Linked DNA regions of Homo sapiens: regions 2 and 3 are each linked to region 1. The links are contacts of gene promoters, found by promoter capture Hi-C in blood cells and fetal thymus (Javierre and others, 2016). All regions are on one chromosome and are shown on one strand. Each heading gives the region's core, a stretch centred on a gene start or on the middle of the fragment in contact. The rest is flanking DNA. Distances are from core to core; before and after follow the strand shown.

What was found. Contacts are between HindIII fragments. The CHiCAGO score rates a contact against its expected background, and 5 or more counts as called.
Region 2: the fragment with the promoter of CCDC66 here is called in contact with the fragment with the promoter of SETD5 in region 1 in 1 of 17 cell types (naive CD8 T cells); the score reaches 8.2 in naive CD8 T cells.
Region 3: a contact is called between a fragment that was not itself captured here and the fragment with the promoter of SETD5 in region 1, in 1 of 17 cell types (total B cells). The highest score is 6.4, in total B cells.

The regions. Positions count from the first base shown.
Region 1 is chr3:9,396,037-9,400,367 of GRCh38, reverse strand. SETD5 (SET domain containing 5) reads right to left here and starts at 2,753. Exons shown (of 23, transcript NM_001080517.3): 1 at 2,391-2,753. THUMPD3-AS1 (THUMPD3 antisense RNA 1) reads left to right here and starts at 3,745. Exons shown (of 4, transcript NR_132781.1): 1 at 3,745-3,808. RefSeq lists an enhancer at 1,886-1,935 and a silencer at 2,546-3,855. The HindIII fragment of the contact is 6,018 bases long and covers 705-4,331 here.
Region 2 is chr3:56,555,128-56,559,458 of GRCh38, reverse strand. It overlaps CCDC66 (coiled-coil domain containing 66), which reads right to left and starts at 2,284. Exons shown (of 18, transcript NM_001141947.3): 1 at 2,206-2,284; 2 at 549-613. The coding sequence starts at 2,216. RefSeq lists enhancers at 1,869-2,028, 1,497-2,168, 2,169-2,841. The HindIII fragment of the contact is 1,896 bases long and covers 603-2,498 here.
Region 3 is chr3:53,343,681-53,348,011 of GRCh38, reverse strand. DCP1A (decapping mRNA 1A) reads left to right here and starts at 469. Exons shown (of 10, transcript NM_018403.7): 1 at 469-629; 2 at 3,070-3,110. The coding sequence starts at 495. RefSeq lists enhancers at 1-744, 280-870, 871-1,461. The HindIII fragment of the contact is 990 bases long and covers 1,418-2,407 here.

The DNA of each region.
Region 1 (4,331 bases), core at 1,504-4,003:
TCAGAAAGATTCTTAAAATTATTACTTGGGTTTTTAAACTGATTGAAAAATTAAAACTCTAATGGAACTTTTAGTCCTATCCAAGCACAAATGTCTAGATAAAAAACAAAAATCTGCCAAAAAACAAAAATCAAATCAAACAAACAAAAAAAGAAAGGCTTTAACCATGATCCAGTTTCCAGATGCCAATATCCATAAATGGGTAGGAGATTATGAATTACTAATTCCCATCTCCCCACCAATAAAAAGCAAACCAGCTCAGCAGTGAAAATTCCCAGAAAAGCAAGGTTTCTTCTTAGTCCTGAAGCAGCCATCGCCTAAGTGCTGCTCCCTGCAGCCAGCAGCATTAATGGACGCTGCACTGCTGTCCTTCCCTGGAGACAGCAGCCAGCACTACTCAAGCTTCTCACGTAGCAACCAGAGCTCCAGAGCCAGCAGCTGCTGCTGCCTTGTATACTCACCCCTGTGATCCAACCCAAAGGAACAACCTTCTCTTTACCCCACCCCCACTCCTTACACACACTTTTTTTTTTTTTTTTTGGACCAGTGCTCCATGCCAGAAGGGCTGGAATTATGCTTTTAAGAAAGAAACAATCCTAAGGTCACCCTTTTAAACCAAGGCCTTTTATTAGAAAAATCAACATTTACCAAATTCTAAATATCCATTTTAATTAAGCCAGCAGTTTAGGAGTGAAGATTAAGCTTTGGTCTTTTGAAAGCCAATTTCCCAAGCACTCTACAATCTAATTTAAATTTGCAGCTAGAAACAGAGCCTTGTGTCATGTCCTACCAAAGGGCATAATTCATTTTTCTACACATAATGACAGTCTGAGTAAACCTTAAAGACTCTAATCCCATAACAGGCCAGAATTTTTGGCTACAGAAGAGAACTAATGATCCTGAGAAAACTGGAAGAAATCCAATAGAAAAAAAAAAGCCCTACGTCCTCTATGGAGCCCAGAAACCTCTGATTACGTGGGTATTCTCTGCTTTAGTCCTAGCTCAGATCCCACACATCTAAAATTACCACTTAGAACTTTCTGTGACCTAAAAACATTAATAATATAAAATTAACAACCAAAAAATAATTTCAAATAGGGAGTACACACTCTCCTAAAAAGCTCAGCACACTCCACTCAGCTGGATCCTCCCCAATCACAAGTATAGCTATGTAACATCTGTCCAACAAAGAAATGTAAATATGACCTTGGTCACAAATATGTCATCTAAAAACTTGTTTAGTCAACTGATGAAGGTAATTAGCACAGAACTTGGGGATTCGTTCAGTACCTATGTGCAGGAAGGAAACTGGAGAAATGAACTTAAATATAGACAAAGCCCAGTGGAACCCAGAGGTCTGGGAAAGAAATGAGTTACCGGTGAATACATTGCACAAGTAACATGAGAAAGCAGAAAATGCAGGTCATACACGCACCCCTGACCCAGACCAGCAGAGCTGACTGCAGCATCCATATCCAAGAGAAAGACCACTGACGCCCAAGAAGTGAGACAAGCAAGGACTCTATAGAATCAATTAGCATAGAAGGGGCTTTCCCAACAGTTTAACTTTCCCTCTCATGCGATTTACCTACTTGAACCAGGGCTCTTTCCTACACTCCTCTTCACATTCCCGACTTACACGCAGAGGGAAAGAGAATTCATAAAGGGAATATTTTTCTGCCTTTGAAGATATTCTCACAAGATCGTTCTCCACGCCCAAGGCAAGTAAAACGACACAATCTGGCTCAACTCCAGGCTCGAACCCTACACATTCAACGAGGCTATCTCAGACACGCTGTGGCACACGCCACGGGGAGCCAGAGAACGTGTGGTGGGGGTGGCGAAGGTAATGCCTTTGGGAAGCAGCCATCTGAGGTGGGAAGCCAGAAAACGAGAGGGAAGGCGTCCAGGAAGATTACGGAGGGGAGATCGCGGCCCCCAGAGCGATCAGAGTTGTCTGTCACAAGGCCGCGAGAACGGGGGTAGGGAGTGGGGGATCGGGGAGAGAAAAAAAGTATGCCTGTGTATTTCGAGCGGAGGGCAGCAAGAGGCCTCTCCTCAAGGGAAAGGTAAACGTGGAGTAGGCAGTTCCCAGGAAAGGGGGTGAAGAGGCGTTGGGGGAGGGGAAGCGTCCTGACCCAGGAAAAACATGAAAGGGGGAGTTGGGTCGCCTAGATTAGAGGGGGATCTCTCTCCCTGGGAAAATGGGGTGTTGCAACGGTGTGTGCAAGGCGGCGAGGGGGGTGAGAAGTGGCAGCATCCTCCTAAGAGCTTGGGGAGGGCCAGGCCCACGACCCAAGGAGAGCGAGCGCGGGGAGACGGAGGAGGTGACCCTTCCCTCCCCTGGGGCCCGATCGTGAGGTTCGGTCTCTTTTCTGTCGGACCCTTACCTTGTCCCAGGCGCTGCCGGGGCCTGGGCCCGGGCTGCGGCGCACGGCACTCCCGGGAGGCGGCAGGACTCGAGTTAGGCCCAACGCGGCGCCACGGCGTTTCCTGGCCGGGAATGGCCCGTACCCGTGAGGTGGGGGTGGGGGGCAGAAAGGCGGAGCGAGCCAAAGGCGGGGAGGGGGGGCAGGGCCAGGGAAAGAGGGGGGCCGGCACTACTGTGTTGGCGGACTGGCGGGACTGGGGCTGCGTGAGTCTCTGAGCGCAGGCGGGCGGCGGCCGCCCCTCCCCCGGCAGCGGCGGCGGCGGCGGCGGCGGCGGCGGCGGCGGCAGCTCACTCAGCCCGCTGCCCGAGCGGAAACGCCACTGACCGCACGGGGATTCCCAGCGCCGGCGCCAGGGGCACCCGGGACACGCCCCCTCCCGCCGCGCCATTGGCCTCTCCGCCCACCGCCCCGCACCCATTGGCCCACTCGCCGCCAATCAGCGGAAGCCGCCGGGGCCGCCTAGAGAAGAGGCTGTGCTTCGGCGCTCCGGCTCCTCAGAGAGCCTCGGCTAGGTAGGGGAGCGGAACTCTGGTGGGAGGGGAGGTGCGGTACACTGGGGGGATGGGTGGCTAGGGGGGCCGTCTGGTGGCTTGCGGGGGTTGCCTTTCCCGTGGGAAGTCGGGAACATAATGTTTGTTACGTTGGGAGGGAAAGGGGTGGCTGGATGCAGGCGGGAGGGAGGCCCGCCCTGCGGCAACCGGAGGGGGAGGGAGAAGGGAGCGGAAAATGCTCGAAACCGGACGGAGCCATTGCTCTCGCAGAGGGAGGAGCGCTTCCGGCTAGCCTCTTGTCGCCGATTGGCCGTTTCTCCTCCCGCCGTGTGTGAAAACACAAATGGCGTATTCTGGTTGGAGTAAAGCTCCTGTCAGTTACGCCGTCGGGAGTACGCAGCCGCTTAGCGACTCTCGCGTTGCCCCCTGGGTGGGGCGGGTAGGTAGGTGGGGTGTAGAGATGCTGGGTGTGCGGGCGCGGCCGGCCTCCTGCGGCGGGAGGGGAGGGTCAGTGAAATCGGCTCTGGCGCGGGCGTCCTCCCACCCTCCCCTTCCTTCGGGGGAGTCGGTTTACCCGCCGCCTGCTTGTCTTCGACACCTGATTGGCTGTCGAAGCTGTGGGACCGGGCCCTTGCTACTGGCTCGAGTCTCACATGAGCGAAACCACTGCGCGGGGCGCGGGGGTGGCGGGGAGGCGGGCGTTGGTACGGTCCTCCCCGAGGCCGAGCGCCGCAGTGTCTGGCCCCGCGCCCCTGCGCAACGTGGCAGGAAGCGCGCGCTGGAGGCGGGGGCGGGCTGCCGGCCGAGACTTCTGGATGGCGGCGGCCGCGGCTCCGCCCCGGGTTCCCACCGCCTGAAGGGCGAGACAAGCCCGACCTGCTACAGGCACTCGTGGGGGTGGGGGAGGAGCGGGGGTCGGTCCGGCTGGTTTGTGGGTGGGAGGCGCTTGTTCTCCAAAAACCGGCGCGAGCTGCAATCCTGAGGGAGCTGCGGTGGAGGAGGTGGAGAGAAGGCCGCACCCTTCTGGGCAGGGGGAGGGGAGTGCCGCAATACCTTTATGGGAGTTCTCTGCTGCCTCCCGTCTTGTAAGGACCGCCCTGGGCCTGGAAGAAGCCCTCCCTCCTTTCCTCCTCGCGTGATCTCGTCATCGCCTCCATGTCGAGTCGCTTCTCGATTATGGGCGGGATTCTTTTGCCTAGGCTTAAGGGGCTAACTTGGTCCCTGGGCGTTGCCCTGCAGGGGAGTGAGCAGCTGTAAGATTTGAGGGGCGACTCCGATTAGTTTATCTTCCCACGGACTAGAGTTGGTGTCGAGGTTATTGTAATAAGGGTGGGGTAGGGAAATGGAGCTTAGTCATTCACCTGGGGCTGATTTTATGCAACGAGACTGCGGATTATCACTACTTATC
Region 2 (4,331 bases), core at 1,035-3,534, about 47 Mb before region 1:
CCTCGAAAGCATAAACTTTAGATCTTGACTGAGTATTTTTTTCTAATCCAGTTCAAGGATTTACTTCTATTTTATTTTTGTTTTTTATCTTTCCAAGGTAAAACTATAAACAGAAAAAAAAATGCGAAGGAGAAGGTACCAAAGTACACTGAGTTTAAAAACGAATACTAAAAGTGACTTTAGCATTTTACGGTGGTCTTACTATAAACTTTTCTCAAATGATACATTCTTTACATGCAAAGAACATAATTACATAAATTTTACTTGTATTATTCATCAGGCAATGAGGATATTTGCTATATGGATATAATGAACACGCAATATACTGGAACATTAAATGTTATGAGTCTGAATACTGACAGTAGTAAGCAGTGTTGTAATCTGATTTTATTTGGCTAGAAGGAAATCTGCAGAAGTTTGAGGAAACAGCTTTTTCTAAAATATCATTTAAATATCACTCTATTACAAGCAAAAAGTCTGTTGAACTAATATAAATTTTATGTATGAATTTAAAAGTTAACATTTCAGATTTCTGTAACACAACATACCATATGGAGACAATATTAGCTTGGTTTTTCCATCCAGTAATTCAGTTTCAAGCTTTAAACCATCTCTGTAATAAAAAAAGAAAGTTGTCTCTCATTTTTAACAAACCGCAACATTTTAAATAACCAGAAATGTTCATTTGAACCTGACAATAAATCCATTATTTTGAATTTATGCAGGAATCTTGTACACATCGAACCAGTGTTTTAATTAAAAACGTTTGCAATCCAAGATAAAACCCACAACTACAGGGGGAAAATTCTTGAAACTCTTCAATACTACAAGCATTGTTATCATTAACCTGAAATCTCATTTTGTTATTGGTAAACTATAAATTAAGTTATCATACCACCATTTTTTAATAATGCTGTTACCAAAACTCCTCACATAAGTTAAAGGAACAAGATATATTTAACCGCCATTCATTAGTTTCATAATGAACTCATGACTAAAACATTCTATGGAGTGCTGGAGCATCGATATGACTACTAACAATGCCATCAAGGTTAGTAACTGCTTGAGCAAAGAGTACCACTTTCAATATTTCAAATAATACATAGTGATATTTAGTATGGTGCTTTATACGTGCATATCAGAAGCAAAGGCATAAAGTAACAGTAGCCACTGCCAACAAAACTTGAACGTCTGTTAAGGTCCTAAAACTCCACTGAGAACAAAAATGGCAGCCCATACATACAGTCCATAATTCAGAGAGAGAAAATTAAATCCAGCAAGCCAGTCAAGGGAGAGAGAGGCTGGGAAAGGTCTGATTAGGAATGCGAAATTTGCGGTGTTGCTCAGGTAGGGGAAATCAAATTACCTCACCTTAACTATTAAAGGTAAAACACTGGAAAGAATAGGTTTTACGGCTTTCCTTATTGTAGGGTTATGAACAGTTCGTGTTTATGTTGGTGAAACGTCACCAAGAAAGAAAAGAGCTTCAATGGTAAAGTACCTTCAATGACGCACTGCACTGTAATCTCCTTAAGGGACACACTATCTTATTTATTTCCATATCCCCAGATTCTAAAACATAATAACATTTGCTGAACGATGTGTAGTTAGGTCTGAGTTTGGTGGCTTCTCATCTTCTCAAAATATCAAACTTGCGAGTGATGAAGACCATGCACCAGCCCTTTTTATTTATTCACCCCTACTTAAGGAGCGCCTACTAGGTGTTAGGCACTGGTACTACATCGATTTCTTGAGAAGCCTGGTTCCCCGCCTCGTGGGCCTAAAACGAATTTGGGCGTTTCAACATTCTGCAAGACTCCAAAAACAAGGTGGCGAAGAACCCGGGGCATGGGCCAGGAGTCCTCCCCAGGAGCCGCCACGCTTCCTCTAACTGTCTCGTCATTTCTCTCCTTTCCTCCTCACCTCTCTTCCCTCCTCATCCTGAGGTAAATAAGGGACCGAAAGGGGATCACTGGCAGTTTTAATGCTAGTCATTAAGTGAAAACGTAAGGTCTGTGGAGTCGCTAAGGGCCGACCCATCTGCCTCGATCTTCTACCCGAGAACTGGGCTCTGCCCCTCTCGGCGGCGCAGGTTGGGAACGTTCTCCAGTAAAGACTCCAAGGGACAACCCAGACACACATGCCTCCCTCTCCGCTGACGACCACCTTGCTTACCCCAGCTTACCCCAGCTTACCCCTGCTTACCCCAAGTTCATGGCCTGACCTCGCACTCTCTCCACAGAACGCTCAAGCCCCTTGTGTACGTCGGTTGCCGCCGCCGCTCAGCAAGCGCTACGCCAATTGGATATAGGGGTGCCGGCGAGCTGAGCAAGTGGACCAATCAGGGTGGGGCATGCTGGCGGGTGCGCTGAGCTGGGCCGGGGCTCCCGCGGGGACGGTTGCGTATGCCGTTTGTTCCCCTTTTGTGCCCCGTTTGTGCCGTTTGTTCCCCTACGCACAGCGGAATTTGGCCTGACCCGGCTTATGAGTCTAAAGCTTCGGTGGCGGAGACCTGCGCTTCTCGCAATTGTAGCCTTCCAAAGCGCGTACACAGACACACACACACACACACACACACACACACACACACACACACACACACACACACACACACACCTTTTTGGGGTCACCATTTGCAAGTAAGTTACAGACATTGTAACACTTAACCCTTTAACATTGCAGACATTGTAACACTTAACCCTTTAACATTGCAGCATGTATCTCCTAAGAATAGATGTTCTGCTACATAACCGCAGTACAATTATTATACCTAAGATCATTAATTTCATAATAATTCTCTTCCCGATTTAATTTCCCCCACTTGTCCTAAGAATATCTTATAGGCATTTTATTTAGAAAGCAAGAGCCAATCGCGCCACTGCATTCCAGCAGCTTGGGCGACAGAGTGAGACTCCGTCTCAAAAAAAAAAAAAAAAAATGCAAGAGCCGATCAAGGATCACACATTACATTTGGTTGTTAAGTATCTTTGCACACACTCTTTCCAGACAAAAACAATGAAAGGTATTAATTATTAAATGCCTGACAAACCTTTACTTTTTTATTTTTTATTGTTGTAATATGTGTGTTAAAATTTGCTATTTTTAGCCATTTTCAAGTGACAATTCCATGATACAATGTTGTGGAATACGCCAGTATATTTTTCCAAAAGCTTTTTAGTACCCCCAAATAAAAATTCTGTACCCATTAAGCAACAACTTCCCATTTTCCTCTCCCCTCAATCCTAAGAAACCTCTAATCTTATTTCTGTCTCTAGGAATTTGCCTATTATAGATACTTCATGTCATAAAAGTGGAATCATACAATATTTGTCCTTTTGTGTCTTCTCTCAAGTAACATAATGTATTCAAGGTGCATCCATGTTGTAGGATGTATCAGAGCTTCATATCTGTTTATGATTGAATAGTATTCCATTCTATGTATATATATACCACAATTCGTTTACTCATTCATCCATTAATAGACATTTGGGTTGTTTCCATCTTTTAGTTATTGTGAATAATGCTGTAGTGAACACTGATGTACAAGTATCTGTTTGAATCCCTATTTTCAATTTTCTTGGTATACACCTAAGAGTGGAATTACTGGGTCACATGGTAATTCTATGGTTAACTTTTCGAGAAACTGCCAAACTGTTTTCATAACAGTTGCAGCATCTTACATTTCTGCCAGCAATGTATATGAGGTTCTAATTTCTTCACCCCAACACTTGCTTTTTCTTTTTCTTTTCTTTCTTTTTTTTTTTTTTTTAGAGACAGGGTTTTGCTCTGTCACCCAGGCCGCCTACATTGGTACGAACATAACACTGTAACCTCGAACTCCTGGTCTTAAATGATCCTCCTGTCTCAGCCTCCCAAGTAGCTAGGGCTACAGGCATGCACCACTACGCCTGGTTAATTTTTAAAAAAATTTTTGTAGAGACAGAGTCTGTTTACGTTGCCCAGGCTGGTCTCAAACTCCTGGCCTCAAGTAGTCCTCCCACCTCAGACTCCCAAAGTGCTGGGATTATAGGCGTGAGCCTGTAGCCAGAATGATTTCTAAAATGTGAATCTGCTTAATTCACTCTGCTTCTTAAAATCTCTCAATATAGGAGAACGTCCTTAACTTGATAAGCAATATCTACAAAAAATCTCCTAGAGACCGGGTGTGGTGGCTTATGCCTGTAATTGCAGCACTTTGGAAGGCCAAGGCAGGAGGATTGCTTGAGTGTAGGAGTTCGAGACCAGCCTGGGCAACATGGTGAGACTCTATCTCTATTTTTTAAAAAAATCCTGTAGAGCCCAATATCACACTTAACAGTGAAAAAGTGCAA
Region 3 (4,331 bases), core at 663-3,162, about 44 Mb before region 1:
TCTCGCCTCTCCCTTTCCCCCATGTTTTTCTGTGCTCTCTAAACGGGCCCGGTAGAGTCCCGCATTTCCACATTCCACAGACATGTTTTCCTTCTGTGGCCCCGGGCCCTGCCAGACAGCGCACCGCGAGGCCGGCACTTCGGCGGTCTCCAACCTTTGCCTGGAAAGAGCTCGGCAGGCGAGCTAGAGGCCAGATCCCAGGACCCAGTCGTTTTAGCTCAGGGAAAGGAAGCGCCGGAGCTCCAGCCTGCAAGCTCCACTACGCAGCCTTGGACACCGCCCACATCGTAGGGCCGCGGACCCTGACAACGCCGGAACCCGGCGCCCGGAGCGTGCGCGCGGCGGACCAGAATGGCTGACGTACCGCCCTGCCGCGAGGCCCGCGTAGAGGCGGAAGTTGAGGGGACTGACGCAGATGGGGGAATTTTGCCTCGATGGCACTTTCCTGTCCGCGACTCCGCCCCCACCAGAGGGGCTAGGCTCTGGGATTCAAGATGGAGGCGCTGAGTCGAGCTGGGCAGGAGATGAGCCTAGCGGCCCTGAAGCAACACGACCCCTATATCACCAGCATCGCAGACCTCACGGGCCAGGTCGCTCTGTACACCTTCTGCCCCAAGGCCAACCAGTGGGTGAGTGCCGCCTGGCCCTGAGGACGGCCACCCGGCCGCTGCCGTCTCTTAAAGGGGCCGCGCGGGTTACTGTGGGGTGGGGGGGCACACTAAGAGGCCAGGGCGGTGGAGACGAGGCCAGGGTCTGGCCAAGAGCCTAGCCAGAGCCTGAGGGGTGTCGGGTCCGCTTGGGATTGGGGGATAGGAGTGAGAGAAGTGGCTCGAGACATCCCAAGGAAAAGCCAGTGGAGGGGAGGATTGGAGCAGGATCAGTCCCTTGGCGTCGGGTCTGGGGACGTGGGCGACCTGCCTTCTTTGCAGATACATTGGGAGTTATAAGACCGGTGGGGTCAAAAGGGTGCCTGAAAGCTTGTGTTTGAGGCTTTGCGGATTATTAGATAAATTATATGTACATTATCTATAAAATAAACACTCCTCCTCTCCCCCTGGCAAACGTAAATGAGAGCCCCTGTCGCAGAGGTCATTTGGGTTTAAAGTTTAAAATCCAATTAGTTTCGATTCTTGGAAGGAGGGGGTGGGTGGGTCCGGCTTTAATCGAACTACACAGAGTTTCGGAAAAGATTCCAAGGCACTTAGGAAAAGGGCTTCCGTGTTCACTGGATCCCCGAAGACCTTTGTACAAACAAGAGAGACCCTGTAAATGTGTTTTGTTCCATCTATGATGCTGGTGATGTCATCTCTGAATGCTCCCCTCGGACTCAGTACTTTCTGGCTTTCGTGCACTGGGGAGGGTCCGAAAAGTCACATTCAGTGTGTTCACTGATTCTTGTTAGCCCCTGCTTGAAGCTTTGTTAGTTGTTTAAAAAGCATAATTTCCCACTTTCTTGTAATTGACCCTTCCTAATTAACTCATTCAGCTACAGGCTTTACACTTAGAAAGTAATACGTAAATGCTTGTTGGATTGAATTCACCAATGACTGGAGTTCACATTTCAATAAGATACGAAATCCTTAAACTGACAGAACTCTGGAAGATGACCGTAGTATGTCGTTTACCCTATAATACAGTTGCATAGATTATATTTATCAGTAATTTATCGAAAATCATTTGGCATTTATGAACAGTTAATTCAGATGAAGAGTTTTTATAATCACGTTGTTTATCTTTGCCTCCTGGAAGAGAAGGAGATATGGGAAGCCACAAGGAATAAAATTGTAGATTGTTTTTTAAATGTAGCTATTTTAGACATTGCCTTAGTTTGAAATTTTATGAATCTTTTTTCTTTTCTTGGCCTATATATAAATTTTGAAATATGGATTGCCGACAAATGGTGAAGACTTGGGGCTAGAGTTTTCCTAGTTTTTCACAAAGGCTTTCAATATTTTAAAATTTTACATTGTGGAGTTCTGTTTTAAATATGAAATACAAGCTATAATAACCTGAATTGAAAAATAAGCTGCTACTGTTTATTTGGATCCTGGCACATAGAGCATGACAAAAATCTTTTCCCTCTTTATTATTTTACAGTGAGTTGTAACTTTGCATGATGTTTTTTGGTGGGCAAATTTTCTTTTACTGTAAGACAGTTGATTACCAGTTTCTTATAGTAATAACCTAACATTTTAAAGGTAAGAAAAAGCCTCTGAATCCTTAGGAAGGAAAATAATGATATTTAAGCTAGGGTAGTACTTCTGGAAGAAATCGAGATGATCAATTTTCTAAATTTTTTAATCCCAACACATTCAATATATGACTAACATTTAAAATGTTAATAATGCGTTGATTACAGTAAAATATTTAGGTCCATTGTAGGCTGTAAATTGCAGACTAATAAGCTTATTTATTTTTTAAAAAACACTGAACTGTGTTTAAAACCTAAATACACTCTTGTCACAGAAAATGAACTATGGTAAAGGCCTCCAATAATTACACTGAGGCAGGGTATACTTTCAGTATTCAAGATTCTTCAAGTTCTAAAAATAACAAGCTGATTTTGTTTGGTAGTAATTCTTAACCACAAAATTTGCTAGTTGTCAAAATGTACGAAAACTCCCTAGTGATGAAACAAAGTATCCTATAAGAAAGTTTCATTCCTTTCCTTTTTTAAAATTAACTTGGATAAACTTAAAAGAGAAGAAATTGCAGTATACAGGACCTTAGCTTTAAAGTTAAGAAATCTGGCTAAAATATTTTAGCTATAAAAAGTGAAGGTTTATTCTATGATTTTCTCCTTTACTAATTAAAAAAGAAAAATACTGCAGATACAGATATGTTGCTGGATTAAATATTGCATATGCTTATGCACTGAAAGGATACATTAGAAATGGTAACCACAATTTGTGGAATGAGAGGGAGACTTTACCTGTTCAAAAGTGGTTAATTTTATAATAGATGAAATGAAACAAGTTGATCTTAAACGTGAAGCATTACTTCTCCATGGGGACTATTTGGGGTCTGATTATGGGGAAAAAAAACTAATTGAGTCATTGTCTTTCATAGGAGAAGACTGATATAGAAGGGACCTTATTCGTATATCGAAGGTAAGTTTTTAAAATATGTATATTTGTTTTTAACAGTCTAGTGGTGAACAATGTGAAACGGTTCAATTCTCTTGTACATTTGTCTTTGGAACCGTCCTGCTAGTACCCTTCAAGTTTTCATCTTTCCCTAGCTGTGAAATCTTAACCAGGTTCTTTCTTTTCTCTGAGCCTTTCTGTGATTCAGAATAAACTGAACTAGAATTTATATTACCAGCCTAGCAAAGCAATTTCAAAATAATAATGATTGAGTCTAAAATGGATGCCTGCGTCTCTCTTCCTACCCCCATATTAGAAAGAAAAAGAAAGATATATATTTGGGGAAAAGACAATACATAGACTGGCTCTGTAAAATAATGTTATTGAGAGGTCGATCCCTCTGTTCTTTCATTACTACATGAGTGGTTGTCTTTTATGACTGGTTCTGTCCTCTTTCCCAACCCACAGAAGTTCTGGATTATGTACAGTGTCTTATTTGAGAGTTCTTTAGAAAGCTTGGATTATTCATGATGGCGTATTTTTTATTTTTGACTTATTCAAAAATTCATTATCTTTAAGATTGGTTTGCAAATTGCAACTTTTTTGTTAGGCAGCTTTTGGGGCCTAAAGACAACTGACAGTATATGATAGTCATGGGGTACTTGTTTTCCTGGATTCCTCTAAGGTCTTAACTCTTACAAGGGCAGGTTCCTTCCCTTGTTTTCTAAAGCTTAGGGAGTCAGCAGGAGTTATTACTGATATCTGGTCTTTTCCCTTTTTTTTTTGTATTGAGTTGCTTCATAAGGATTGCCTTTCTCCATTGATGCCAATTTAAAAGAATTTGTCAAATACTCTTCTAAATTTTGATACAAAGCTTTGAGATCTCGTCTAAATGCACTCATTTTTTTCTTCTTTTAAGTGTAATTCTTTGATATTTGTACACCAAGCTCTTTTTTCTTAGACACTTTCTTTGTTCCCTGCTATTCATCTTTCTGCTTTTAAAAAGGAAGGGATCGGCCGGGTGCAGTGGCTCACGCCTGTAATCCCAGCACTTTGGGAGGCCGAGGTGGGCGGATCACGAGGTCAGGAGATCAAGACCATCCTGGCTAACACGGTGAAACCCTGTCTCTACTAAAAATACAAAAAATTAGCTGGGCATGGTGGCAGGCACCTGTAGTCCCAGCTACTTGAGAGGCTGAGGCAGGAGAATATCGTGAACCCAGGAGGCGGAGCTTGCAGTGAGCC